Linked DNA regions of Homo sapiens: region 1 is linked to region 2. Evidence: promoter capture Hi-C in human tissues and cell types (Jung and others, 2019). All regions are on one chromosome and are shown on one strand. The core of a region is centred on a gene start or on the middle of the fragment in contact, and the rest is flanking DNA. Distances in the headings are between cores, read along the strand shown.

Region 1 (6,784 bases), core at 3,831-6,330, 1.8 Mb before region 2:
ATTTTAATTCTAATGCACTGAATTTTTTTTTATCATATATCTCTGTCCAATTTCTTTACTATTCCCTAGTTAGATTTAATTACATATGTCATAAGGTCTTCTCTTTTCCTCCTCTATCTCTACTATGATTCAGTTGTTATTCATTTATTTTTTTTGGCCGTTTCTCTCAATTGGATAAATGAGTGATAACATACGCCAAAATACTTTCCTTTTACTCTTTGTTGGGATAGAATTCTTGGGTGGCAGTCCTTTTCTCTCAAAAATTTATGAATGCTCTTTCACTATCTTCTTTTGCCATGTTGTGGATATAAAGGCCTATGCCTACCTCTCTTTTTTTTTTTTCCTAAGTAACTTGTTTTTTTCTGGAAGCATCTAAGGTTTTTCTCTTTATTCTTGAGTTCATGGCATTTGCCAGATATCTTTTCTCACCCTTGTAACCCATAATTTTATAGGCAGTTTTCACCTGCAGACTCAAGCTTGGAGAAATTTCTTTAGCTTGAGGGACTTTATAATGTTATTAGTTTAGTAGTCATCTTTCTTTCAGAAACTTTTATTATTTGCACATTATGACTCCTGTATCCATCCTCTCAACCAAGCCTCTTCTGTTTCCCCTCAAGATTCCCTTCTCTGTCTTTCTATGAGCACTTTCTTGAGGTATAATTTACATACTATAAAACTTACCCTTTTTAGGTGTACAGTTCTGTGAATTTTACAGACATGTACAGTCATATAAGCAGCATTATAATCGAATATATAACATTGCCATCATCCCACAAAGTTCCCTCATGTCTCTTTATGGTCAGTCTTCTGGGCCTTTCCAAGCCCCTGACAGCTCAGTTTTGGGTCCCTTTGGTTTCGCCTTTCCCAGAATGCCGATATAAATACTGTATGTAGCTTATTGGGTCTAGTGTCTTTCATTTAGCATAATTCACTTGTGGGTTTTGCTGGGGCACATATCTGTAGTTTATTCCTTTTTATTGTTGATTACTGTTCCACAATATGGGTGTACCAGTTTGTTTATCCATTCACCAGATTAGTAGTAGCTAGCTTTCAAAATGGTCCCCAGTTATCCTTGCCTTCTGGTATTCATGCCCTTCTGTGGACCGCTTCCAAATTGTGTCAGGATTGGTTTCTGGGACCAGTAGAATAAGGCAAAACTGATGGTATATGACTTTTGAGACTAGGTTGTAAAAGACATTGTGTCCATTATTTCTTCAATTATTTCTTTTGCCCTATTGCTTCTCTATTATCTTTCTAAGAATCTGGGAATCCAATTATACATATGCTAGACCATTTGTTATTATCCCACAGCTTTTGGGTACTCTATTTTTTTTCACTTTTTTTGGAGTTGTGTTTCAATTCTGGTATTTTTCATTGGCCTGTCTTCAAATCTGCTGCATTCATCTTTGGCTTTATTGAATATACTGATAATTCTGCCTAAGAAATTTTTCATCTGTGATATTATATTTTTTATTTGTAGCTCTTCCATTTGACTCGTAGAATTTTCATCTCTATTGAAATTCCTGTCTGTTAACACATTTCATCTACCTTTCTAGGTTTTTGTTTTTTTTTTTTAACATCTTACTCATAGTTATAGTTATTTAAGATTCCTGTCTGGTAGTTCCAACAACTGGGTCATCTCTGGGTCTGTTTCTGTTTATGATAATTCTGTTTTTCTTTTTGTTTGTCTTTTTTTTTTATTGAGTGCCAAATATGTGCAGATTAGTAGATACTGAGATAAATAGTTTTTACACCTTGAAATGGGTGCCTTTTTTCTATCATTTGTCCTTTATTGTGGGATTTGCATTAGTTAGGAATTGAGCTGAGTTTGAGTTTTGTTATTGCTATGGTTACCTTCAGTGTCTCACAGGCTTCAAATTCCTCTAAAGATGCCCTGTGCTTACTGTGAGAACATTGTGCCAGAGACATTTTCTTATTTTTCTATATAATAGTTCCACTCCAGTTTTCCTGTGCTTTGGCGCACACTTGTGCTACAGAGGGTGCCTCTTGCCATGCTCTTGCCCTACCTCCAGCTGTAGAATACTGTGTTTCATTACTCAGTTCAGGGTATGAGAGGCAGGTTAGTTCTCTGTTTTCCTAGTGCAGCTACACTCTTAGGTAGGCTGTATGTGCCTGGCCTCAGCATTTTGGCCCCTGCTGTTCATGACAGCCTTGTATCTGTGGCTGGTCTTTTGTGGTAAAGAGTTTTCTGCCTCACTCTGAGAAAGGACTGTTGTTTGCCCCTCTCTCAGGTATAGAGAGTTTTTTCTTTTACTCATCTTTCAGCAAGGATGGATTGTATTTGTGTCCTGGGGTCAACAGGGTTGATTCTCCTCCTACAGTAGCTTAAGTCCTTTCCTCTATGGGAGAGAAGGGTTTGGAAGGAGGGTAGAACGTTTTGCTTTCCTTCACTGGTGGTCAGTCCCCTCCTCTGTATCTGTAGCACTGACTTAGGCTGTTTAGTCTCTTCCCCTCTCCCAGTCTTTATGTGTAAAGTGAGGGCCCTTGCAAAAGAGTCTGAGAGTCAGTGTGAATTCACCTTGTGTTTTGGGCTCTCAGTGTTGCTGTACTATTATGCTAGCCTGCATTTGGTCTTTGTCAAATTATTAAAGTTATACTTGGTTTCTTCTTATGTATTTATTTGGTCTTGTTCCTTCCTCCTATGCTCTACTACAGTTGGGACAATCTGTAATCTTTTTTTCTCCTGGGAATGGGGGCTGCCCCATTCCTGGATTTCAGGCTGTCTGGTAGGAGTTTGTAGTTTATCCAGCTTTTTCTGTTGTTTGGATGGAGGTGATTTTTTTTAATTTAAATTTTAAGTTTAAGTTCTGGGGTACATGTGTAGGATGTGCAGGTTTGTGACATAGGTAAATGTGTCCCATGGTGATTTGCTGCACCTATCAACTTATCACATAAGTATTAAGCCCAGCATGCATTAGCTATTTTTCCTAATGCTCTCCCTCCCCCTACCCCATCCTGACAGGCCCTAGTGTGTGATGTTCCCCTCCCTGTGTCCATTTGTTGTCATTGTTTAGCTCCTATTTATAAGCGAGAACATGTGGTGTTTGGTTTTCTGTTCCTGTGTTAGTTTGCTGAGGATGATGGCTTCCAGCTCCTGAAAGGGAGAGGCAGGGTAGTTCTCTGTTTTCCTAGTGCAGCAGCAGTCTTAGGTAGGCTGCATGTGCCTGGCCTCAGCATTTTGGCCCCTCCTATTCAAGATAGCCTTGTATCTGTGGCTGGTCTTTTGTGGTCTTTTGTCCAAGTCCCTGCAAAGGACATTATCTCATTCCTTTTTATGGCTGGATAGTACTCCACGTGTTTACAGTGTTGGTGGAAATGTAAATTAGTTCAACCATTGTGGAAGACAGTGTGGCGAGTCCTCAAAGATGTAGAACCAGAAATACCATTTGACTCAGCAATCCCATCACTGGGTATATACCCAAAAGAATATAAATTATTATTTTACAAAGATACATGCACATGTATGTTCATTGCAGCACTATTCATAATAGCAAAGATGTGGAATCAACCCAAACGCCCATCAGTGATAGATTGAATAAAGAAAATGTACATATACACTATGGAATACTGTAGCGGTGATTTCCCCCTCCCCCCGTTTTTTAAAAGCTTTTTCAGCTTTCTTTTGGGTTCTTTGGAATTCCTTAATATCCATTATTGTATCAAATATTCCTGTAAATATGATTAAATTGAACATCTTTCACTGTTTGATCTATTAGTATGACTAGACTGGTGCCATATTGTGTCAGTAATGAGATACAAATCAGTGCTAGTTGAACTCCTTTGGTAAAGTTTACCTTCCTTGGTAAACTAGCACTGAATCGTACCTCATTACTATCACAATATTGCACCAGTCACTGGTTTGAAGAGAGCAACACATGTCACCAGTTTCCTGAAAATGCCCCACTGCTCTGACATCTTGGAGGTGCAGAAGAGATCAATAGTTACTGCTACTAGAGGAGTGGCAGGATCACTTAAAAATGTGTTGAGTATGAAATTCATGAAGTTCAGTAGTGCAATGTCATATGTCTTACTTCATGTGATTTTGAGCTTTGAGTCTATCAGTGAAATATCATTATATGATTAGCATTTTACATATTAAGAATGACTACTCTTTATAAACAGGAAACTGCATGAGAAAGTGATTGCTCGATCTTTGCTTCTCTAGGGTCAGATATTTTTCAGTTTAAGTCAGCAGATAGTTGCTGAGATTTGTAACTCAAACTTGTTAGAGATTGAAAGACAAAAAAGACACAATCTTTACTGTCAAGGACTTCACAATTTAGTGGAGGAAGTATAGCTTTAAACTATTACTACATAATGTAATAATTAATAACTTTTATTTAGTGCTTACTAAGTGATAGATGCTGTTCTAAGAACTTTACATGCATAAAATAACCAGTTATCTCAGTAAGGTTTTCAAAAGTTATATATGAAGTTGTACTATTTCTTTTACCATTTTCCAAATGAGGAAACTAGTACAGAAAGATTAAGTAATTTGACAAAGATCACATGATAAGCAGGAAATTCTGGAATTCAAGACAGACTCCATTACACAATAGTGCTTTCCACTAAATATGGGCTCAGTGTAGAACTAGCCCAAAGAAGAAAGTGATTTACTTTGCTTGAAACGATCATGGAAGTCTTCATGGAGATGATGCTTATTCTGTATGATGAAGCAAGAATAAGATTTCACTAAGGACATAAAAGCAAGGGAAATGGGACAGTTAGCCTTCCATATCTGTAGGTTCTAATTTCATGGATTCAACTAACTGAGGGTTGAAAATAGTTGGAAAAAACCCACAAAAAATAACAATACAACAACAAAAATAACACAAATAGAAAAACAACACTGTACAACTTTTTACATATTTACATTATATTAGGTATTATAAGTAATCTAGAGATGATTTGAAGTATACAAGAGGAGCCATTTTAAATAAGGGACTTGTGCATCAGTGGATTTCGTTAACCACAGAGGTCCTGGTACCAATCCTCGTTGGATGCCAAGAAATGATAATATGTGCAGAGGTATACAACTTAAACAAAACATGGCTTAGTCAATTAATTTCATGTAGTAAATGAGACTAGAAATAGGGAAATGGCGTATGTGAAGCTGTATAGTTAGGTAGAAGCCTGATTATAGAAGACTTTATTAAACAATTCATACTTTACTGTATAGATAATATGAGCAGTTGAAAAGGTAAGTAACAGAGTAAAACAATCAGTGTTTGTTCATATTTGAGAAGTGTGGAGGATGGATTGAAGTGAGGCAAGATTAGAAATAAAAAGGAAATCAGGAGACGCGATAAATCAGATAGGAAGTGATATAAAGGAGAATTTTAAGAAATTTTCAAAATGTTAATGTCAGTCTTTGGGAGATACAGATTTACTTGCCTGCTACAGGATGGTAGGTGGCACATGGCTTTGCAAAAATCTTTTTGTATCTTTGAAATAATGGTTCAATATTTCATTCAGATTAAAGTTGGAATGTGTTTAGTAGATTCAGCTTAGTTGAACACACACCACAAAACAATCTTACAATTCAGCACAATTGTTAGTCTCTACCTAAGAGACTGGAAAAACAAAAGAACAAATTTGTGTTATGACTGCTACCGTATAATAGGGTCTTTTAAAATAATTTAATCATTTCATAAGCACCAAATTAATCCAATGTTGAAAAACAAATTTAGGGGAAAAATAAGTACATCTGCTGTGCTTAACTCTATATTTGATACAAAGAAGGGATTCAGTATGGCTGTATTTTGTGAACATCTTACAGGGCTTATATGCTATTTGTTCCCTGTTTTTTTTTGAAGACATTGAGTTAATTCTTAGAAGGTTAATGGGATGTTGTAAATTCTGTTTTTCTTAAAATAAAAATCACTAAATTTTTATTGAAGTTCATGCTATAACTGACAATTATGGCCTTTGAGTTAAAGGATTTCTGAGTTGAATAGTGATATTTGCTTTGCAGAAAATAAGACAGCAATATAATAGAAAGTAACTTTAAGTGGGAGGCTACATTAGTTTGTGGGATTATGGAAGGCCTCTTTTATAAGTGAAATTTGCACAGAGACATGAATGTTAAGAAGAATTCATTGTGCAAAGATTTCAGAGAAGAACTTTCTTGACACCAGGAAGTTAGTTCAAAGGCTCTAAGTTAGTTGATTTGGCATTTTAGAGGTTCAGAAAGAAGGCTATAGGGGCTGGAGAGCAGTGAGTAAGGAGGAGAAATGGTAGAGTGGATTGGAAATGTAATTAGACATGGTGGGACAGATTATATGAACTCTTGTAGGCCCTGAAAAAGAGTATTGATTTTAAGTACAAAGGGAAACCACTGGAGGTGTTAAGCAGGAGAGGAAGATGATCTGATACAGAATTTTTAAAAGATGACTGTGTCCACTGTGGATAATGGTTGATAGTGGCATAATGGTGAACACCAATGGAGGAAATGATGTTATAGTAATTTATGTTAGAGATGATGTTGATTTGGACTAGGATTAAGAACTGTTGATATGGAAAGGAATGATGGCTTTGGGATATATTTTTAGAGGTGGAATAATTACGATTCACAGGAGGAAACCTTCAGAGTGACCTTTCTGGCAGAACAACTCATACTGTTTCCTGAGTTGAGAAAGAAGGAGGGAGTGGAGGGAGTAAATAGATTTTGGGTCAAAAAATAAATAATTTAATTTATATATGTTAATTTTGCAATGCCTATTTTTCTAGTTGAAATGTTTAGTAAGCAATTGACTGTAGAGGC
Region 2 (5,941 bases), core at 1,744-4,243:
ATTAGGCACATTCATCCTCCTGTGGAAAACACAATGTAGGCAGCCCACTGTCTCTCTCAAATGTTCCCATAGTTTCAGTCTACATTGAACTTGTTCCTCAGAACAGCCAAAAAATACCCATACCACTCAACTTAGACACACAGTCATATACCACTTTGCACTGTTGGCTTTTTCACATATACTTGTCTCGTGGTCCCAAAGACTCAAAGAGCTACTTAAAGGCAAAGACTAGGTCTTACATTTCTTTAGCACTGTGCACCTGATCCATAGTCCACCTCATTCTTGTATTCTCAACTAATATTCAGAGTCAGGAAAAGTTATAATCTGAAAGGACCTTTATTTTGTTGTTGCTATTTTTGAGACGGAGTCTCACCCTGTCATCCAGGCTGCAGTGCAATGGCACAAACTCTGCTCACTGCAACCTCCACCTCCCAGGTTCAAGCATTTCTCCTGCCTCAGCCTCCCCAGCAGCTGGGATTACAGGCGTACACCACCACGCCCGGCTATTTTTTGTATTTTTAGTAGAGACAGAGTTTCGCCATGTTGGCCAGGCTGGTCTCCTGACCTCAGGTGATCCACTGGCCTCGGCCTCCCAAAGTGCTGGGATTACAGGTGTGAGCCTGAAGGACCTTTAGAGATAACCTAGTCTAAGCTCCACATTTGAAATGAACTAGGTGAGAGTCGTTAACCTTTTACAGTCCAATCAATCAGGCAGATCTGGGTTCAAATGCAGGACTGTTTTCTGTAAAATAGAGATGACACCTACCTCAGAAAACAGTTGTAATGATCAAATTATACTTTCCTTTTTGTTTTTCTTGTTAAGACATAATCTTTTTGGCTGATTTCTTTCCTGGTTAATAGTTCAATTGAATTCTAAGCCCAAGAGGCAGGGCTTTTTTCCTTTTTCCTACTGTATTTTGTGACCTTATGGTTGGTGTCTAATACAGTGCCTGGCGTCTTTTGAGTGAGCCATGAACTAACCATGTGAAAGAATGAATTAAACCTATATTATCACTTTCACGTTCAGCAAATATGTTATTCTTTAATTCCTCCAAGAATCTGTTTTTCCTAAATTGGGCCTTCTCAAAACAAATATATTTATCTCCCTACCCCTTTCTCCCTTCCTTCTCTGTCACATACACACACACACACACACCCCTACCTTTCTCTTTAGAACAGCTGGAAAAAAAAACACTGCCTCGTTCATATTTTTGGAATAAAGTTAGCATTTTTACTAGGATATTCAGGAAAACTGATAGATGGACAGGATTTGGAGGCATTACACATCTCTGGAGAGCTTTCTTATGATTTGTGGCATCGAGTCTTTCAATAAAATTACTTGTCTATAATAAATTCTGGCAGAAAGTAAATCAGAAATTCACTGGTGAGTTGTCAGTGAAGTTAAATACTTCACTCTGTGTACTTCACTCTGTTCTATACAAGCAAACAGTGACTAACAGGATTAACCTGAGCTCTAATACTGGGTGTAGATATTCCTCAACGACAAACGGGTTCCCTTCGTACAGGCATTAAATTTATATTATATTTAAGGGGGCATAAATTTTGCTTTTGCAAACACATTTTACTAGAAAAATATTTGATCCAGATGTCAGCACAAAAGTGTCATTTCTTTCCTTTGCAAGGGAGCAGCAACAAAACAACCAATGGGGAGGAAGAATAAGATCCCAGACCTCTGAAGAGGACACAGGTTTCCACTAAAGCAAGGTTGATACTTTCAAGGAATATTTTTCCTAACAGCTAAAACGGTTTAACACATAGCATCTTGTATCAATTACACAAACACCATTAAAGCCACTCTGGTTCCCTGGGAAAGGACCGCAACTGAAATCCCTTCTGGCTTCAGCTGTCCCCTCCTGCCGAGTTTGACAGCACATCCAAGGCGCCCAAACACCAGCCACTAGGCTCCCCCCCAGCGCCCTCCTCTCGCAGCAAACCGCCAAGGCTCCCGGGCCAAACTCCAAAGTCCCTCAATTCAAAACCGCGAAAATGTGAACCCTGCTAAGCAAACGGCAGGGCGCGTAATAACTTTTCTTTCTTTCCCTTTTGCGCGCGTTCGATATGCTTGTCTCTACTACCAACTCCTCAGCTCCACAGCCCGCTTCCCGCAACCCATCTCGAGGGGCGGAGGAGAGGGAGCGCCCACCAAAGAAAGGGCTAGTGAGCCCTAAAACCTCGGCAGTTTTCCCGGTGCGGGAGCTTTAGCACACATCAGCCCAATAATCAGATGCAGGAATAAAGCAGGAAGAAGGCTCCTCTCTCCATCGCACCCCATCCTTCCTAAGGAAGAAAAAAAGCATGCAGCAGGAGTTTAGCTGGACGTCTAGGTCCTTTTATGGGGCGAACAGGCCCGCAAAGCAGGCTGTCTGGAACCTGGAGGAAGAAAGTTGTCCGGCCAAGTGGATGCCTGGGCGTGAGGGAGTGCAAGGCACCCTGTCCCGAGCCCGCCAGGGGTAGGGGCCAAGGGGAAAGAGACCGGCATTCGTTTAAGAACCAGCCCCGCGCGCGGCCAGCTGCAGCCGCCGGCGAGCCGACTGGGGAGGGGTGTGGACGCCGAGGCCCGCGGAGTGGTGCCCGCAGCTCTACTTACATAACGCTTCAACTTTTTCTCCGGGGGGGACTTGCGGAGCCATCCGGAGCAGACCACTTCACCACCGCTCATGGTGCGCGCGTCTCGGGCTCCGGGCCGGGCAGCTGAGGGGCGGCGGGCGCGCTCCCGACACAGCCGACGCCTGCCGAGCGCGCAGTGGCGAGAACCTAGCTCTCCTGGTCGCGCACCCCGGACGGACTGGGCGGACAGACTCCACGGTGCGCGGGTTCCACGAGTTCGAGTCTCTCCTCTGCAGGCCCACGAACCTGAACAGAACGCGAGCCGGGGCCGCGGGCGCGCCGGCCTCCTTTCAGTGCGCCCGCCTCGCCTCCAGACGTGCCGTCTCGCCAGCTGCCTCAGCAGCGCTCGGACTCAGCGGGACTCTGCCCCGACTCGGTGCCGGAGCTTCTGTCCTTTGCGCTCCGCCCCCTAGGGACAAGACCTCCCCAGAGCGCTTTCCGAAACAGACACAGCGCTGCTCACACACACACACACACACACACACACACACAATGCCCCGCGCGGTGCCCGCTCGCCCGCCCACCCGCCCTCGGTTTCGATGCGCCCGGAGCGATCCTCCTTCCCTCTCCTCGGGGGAGGGTGGGTCACTTCGCGGCGCTCGGTGAACGCCGAGGAAAGGGGAAGCCGCGAGCCGCCTACGGGCAGCGGGCGCGGGGCTGGTCCCGGGTCACAGAGGGAGCCGCAGGGTTGGCAGCGAAGCGCGGGGCGTTTCTGAGCGGCGGGCGCAGGGAGGTCGCAGGTCAAGCCGGAGGGTGGGTCCGCTCTCGCGGCCGCCGAAGAGGGCGGGGAGCAGCAGAGGAACGAGGCGCTTGGCGGCTTGGCTCCTGGGAGGGATCCCGCTGTCCCGTCCCCTCGCGCTCCTCCCCCGCCGCCTCCCCCACCCCGGGGCTCGCGGCAGGTCCTGAGCGGCTCGGCCCCAGATCCCGATCCCTCCCTCCCTCTCCCGGCCGCCGGGCTCCTTCTTCCTCCCTCTCCTCCTCCCCTTCCCACGTTCAGGCCCGGCTCCGGTTTCTGCCCAGACTTTCTCTGAAACTCCGCCGGAGTGCTTCCAGCCAAAACAACAAGGGCCGGGGGAGGAGACGGACGAAGGGAGGGAGCAAGGGAGGGAGGGAGCGCGAGTCCGAGAGGCACCCTGGGATCTGTAGTTCGGGAAGCAGGAGCAGGGTCCTCCGCCGTCCGGCGGCCCCCAATCGGCTCCTCGCCCGGGAAGACCGCAGAGGCCTCGGCTAGGGCAGAGGCACCGGGGCTTGGGCGCGGGGAAGACTGAGGGACATTCGAATGTTCAGTCCGGGGCTTGCCATCTTGACTCAGCCCGGTGCCAGCTCGGAGCTTGTGCTGTGCTCGAGATCAGGAGTTTCGAGGGTTTTCTTTACTTGAGAGCCTGAAAGGCAAAACCGCGGGGAGACCACCATCCTGCCGGTCCCCGCCGCGCGAGATTAAAGGACAGACCAAGAGGGCGCGGGAGCTACCAGCTTGGAGGGGAGGACAGATGGGGACCCAGGGCTGGCCAGGGCTGGTCTCTGGAGCTGTTCTGCCAGAGTGATGGGGGCGCTTGGCGAGGCCAAGGATTTGGTTGGGTCCTATCTCTGAGACATTTTGAAGTCTCACACCCCTTCCATTTGTTGCCTATTCCACTTAACTTTGTATTTGTTTGAAATCTACTGTTCGGATGCTGGACTAGAAGAGGGACACTTGGCCGGGCGCGGTGGCTCACGCCTGTAATCCCAGCACTTTGGGAGGCCGAGGCGGGCGGATCAACTGAGGTCGGGAGTTCAAGACCAGCCTGACCAACATGGAGAAACCCAATCTCTACTAAAAATACAAAAATTAGCCGGGCGTAGTGGCGCGCGCCTATAATCCCAGCTACTCGGGAGGCTGAGACAGGAAAATAGCTTGAACCCGGGAGGCGGAGATTGCGGTGAGCCGAGATCGCGACACTGCGCTCCAGCCTGGGCAACAAGAGCAAAACTCCGTCAAAAAAAAAAAAAAAAAAAAAGAGAGAGAGAGAGAAAGAAGGAAGGAAGGAAATTTACTGGGTACCCTAGTTCTATTTGCCTACTTCCTTGTGTGTTTCACAATTATTATACTGGTCCTGAGTTTAACATGATTCTGTAATAAACATCTTCTCCAATTTATTTGTGAAAAAGCCCCAAAGCCAATTTCAGCAGATAATATAATCAGATAAAAGTGCTAAAAATATGACGACATAAATGAGCATTTCTGGAAAGACATAACTTCAGTCATTTTCTTATTAACACAACATTCATATTCTGAAGCTCCTCTGAGTTTGAAAATGTTAGATGATTGTAATAAGAAATTAGGTGCTGGAGTGGTGACAAGACAAAGATCCCTGCATATATGGAGGTAGTGGCATAGGGTAGTAAGCAAATAAAGAGTCAACAAAACTACAGATTGAGACTCAGTCTCAAAAAAGAAAAATCTGAAAAAGCCTGGTTCCCACTGGGGTTTAGAGACCGTCATCTTTTGGCAGGCACTTAACAGTATCACAAGGGCGGAACTTCTTGCAGATCTGGATGCACTTTTCAGGTCATCAACTGAGTAGTCGTGACCTTGGGTAAATTACACAATGTCTCTGAGTCTCAGTTTCCCGATATGTGAAATGGGAATTGCAACACCGATTTTGCAGAAGTTTAATGAGAAATAGAAATGGTAGTGTTGGCCAGGTGCGGTGGCTCACGCCTGTAATCCTAGCACTTTGGGAGGCCTAGGTGGGTGGATTGCCTGAGCTCAGGAGTTTGAGACCAGACTGGGCAACTCAGTGAAAACCCGTCTCTACTAAAATACAAAAAATTAGCCGTGGCGGCGTGCGCCTGTAGTCCCAGCTACTCGGGAGGCTGAGGCAGGAGAATCGCTTGACCCGGGAGGCGGAGGTTGCAGCGAGCCGAGATCGCGCTACTGCACTTCAGCTTGGGCGACAAAGCGAGATTGTGTCTCTAAAAAAAAAAAAAGAAAAGAAAAGAAAAGAAAAGAAAAGAAAAGAAAAGAAAAGAAAAGAAATGGTAGTGTTGGTCGGTTAGTCGGGCGCGATGGCTCGCGCTTGTATTCCCAGCACTGTGGGAGGTCTAGGTGAGCAGGTCACTTGAGGCCAGGAGTTTGAGACCACCCTGGCCAACGTGGTGAAACCCAGTCTCTACTAAAAACACAAAAATTAGCCGGGTGTGGTGGCACGCGCCTGTAGTCCCAGCTACTCGGGAGGCTGAGGCAGGAGAATCGCTTGAACCCAGGAGGTGGAGGTTGCAGTGAGCCGAGATCGTGCCACTGCACTTCAACTTGGGAGACAGAGCGAGACTG

The links. Contacts are between HindIII fragments. The study calls those that stand out against the background at their distance.
Region 1: a fragment that was not itself captured here is called in contact with the fragment with the promoter of GAB1 in region 2 in 1 of the 25 tissues and cell types used here (hippocampus).

The regions. Positions count from the first base shown.
Region 1 is chr4:145,088,358-145,095,141 of GRCh38, reverse strand. The region is part of intron 2 of ANAPC10 (anaphase promoting complex subunit 10); the gene reads left to right. Among named protein-coding and RNA genes, the nearest start is that of ANAPC10, 6.4 kb to the left of the region's middle. The HindIII fragment of the contact is 6,056 bases long and covers 2,053-6,784 here.
Region 2 is chr4:143,333,928-143,339,868 of GRCh38, reverse strand. It overlaps GAB1 (GRB2 associated binding protein 1), which reads right to left and starts at 2,993. Exons shown (of 10, transcript NM_002039.4): 1 at 2,609-2,993. The coding sequence starts at 2,680. It also overlaps the pseudogene LOC124900789. RefSeq lists enhancers at 2,254-3,067, 3,977-4,186 and silencers at 3,097-3,146, 3,217-3,276, 3,377-3,676, 3,617-3,784. The HindIII fragment of the contact is 14,684 bases long and covers 1-5,941 here.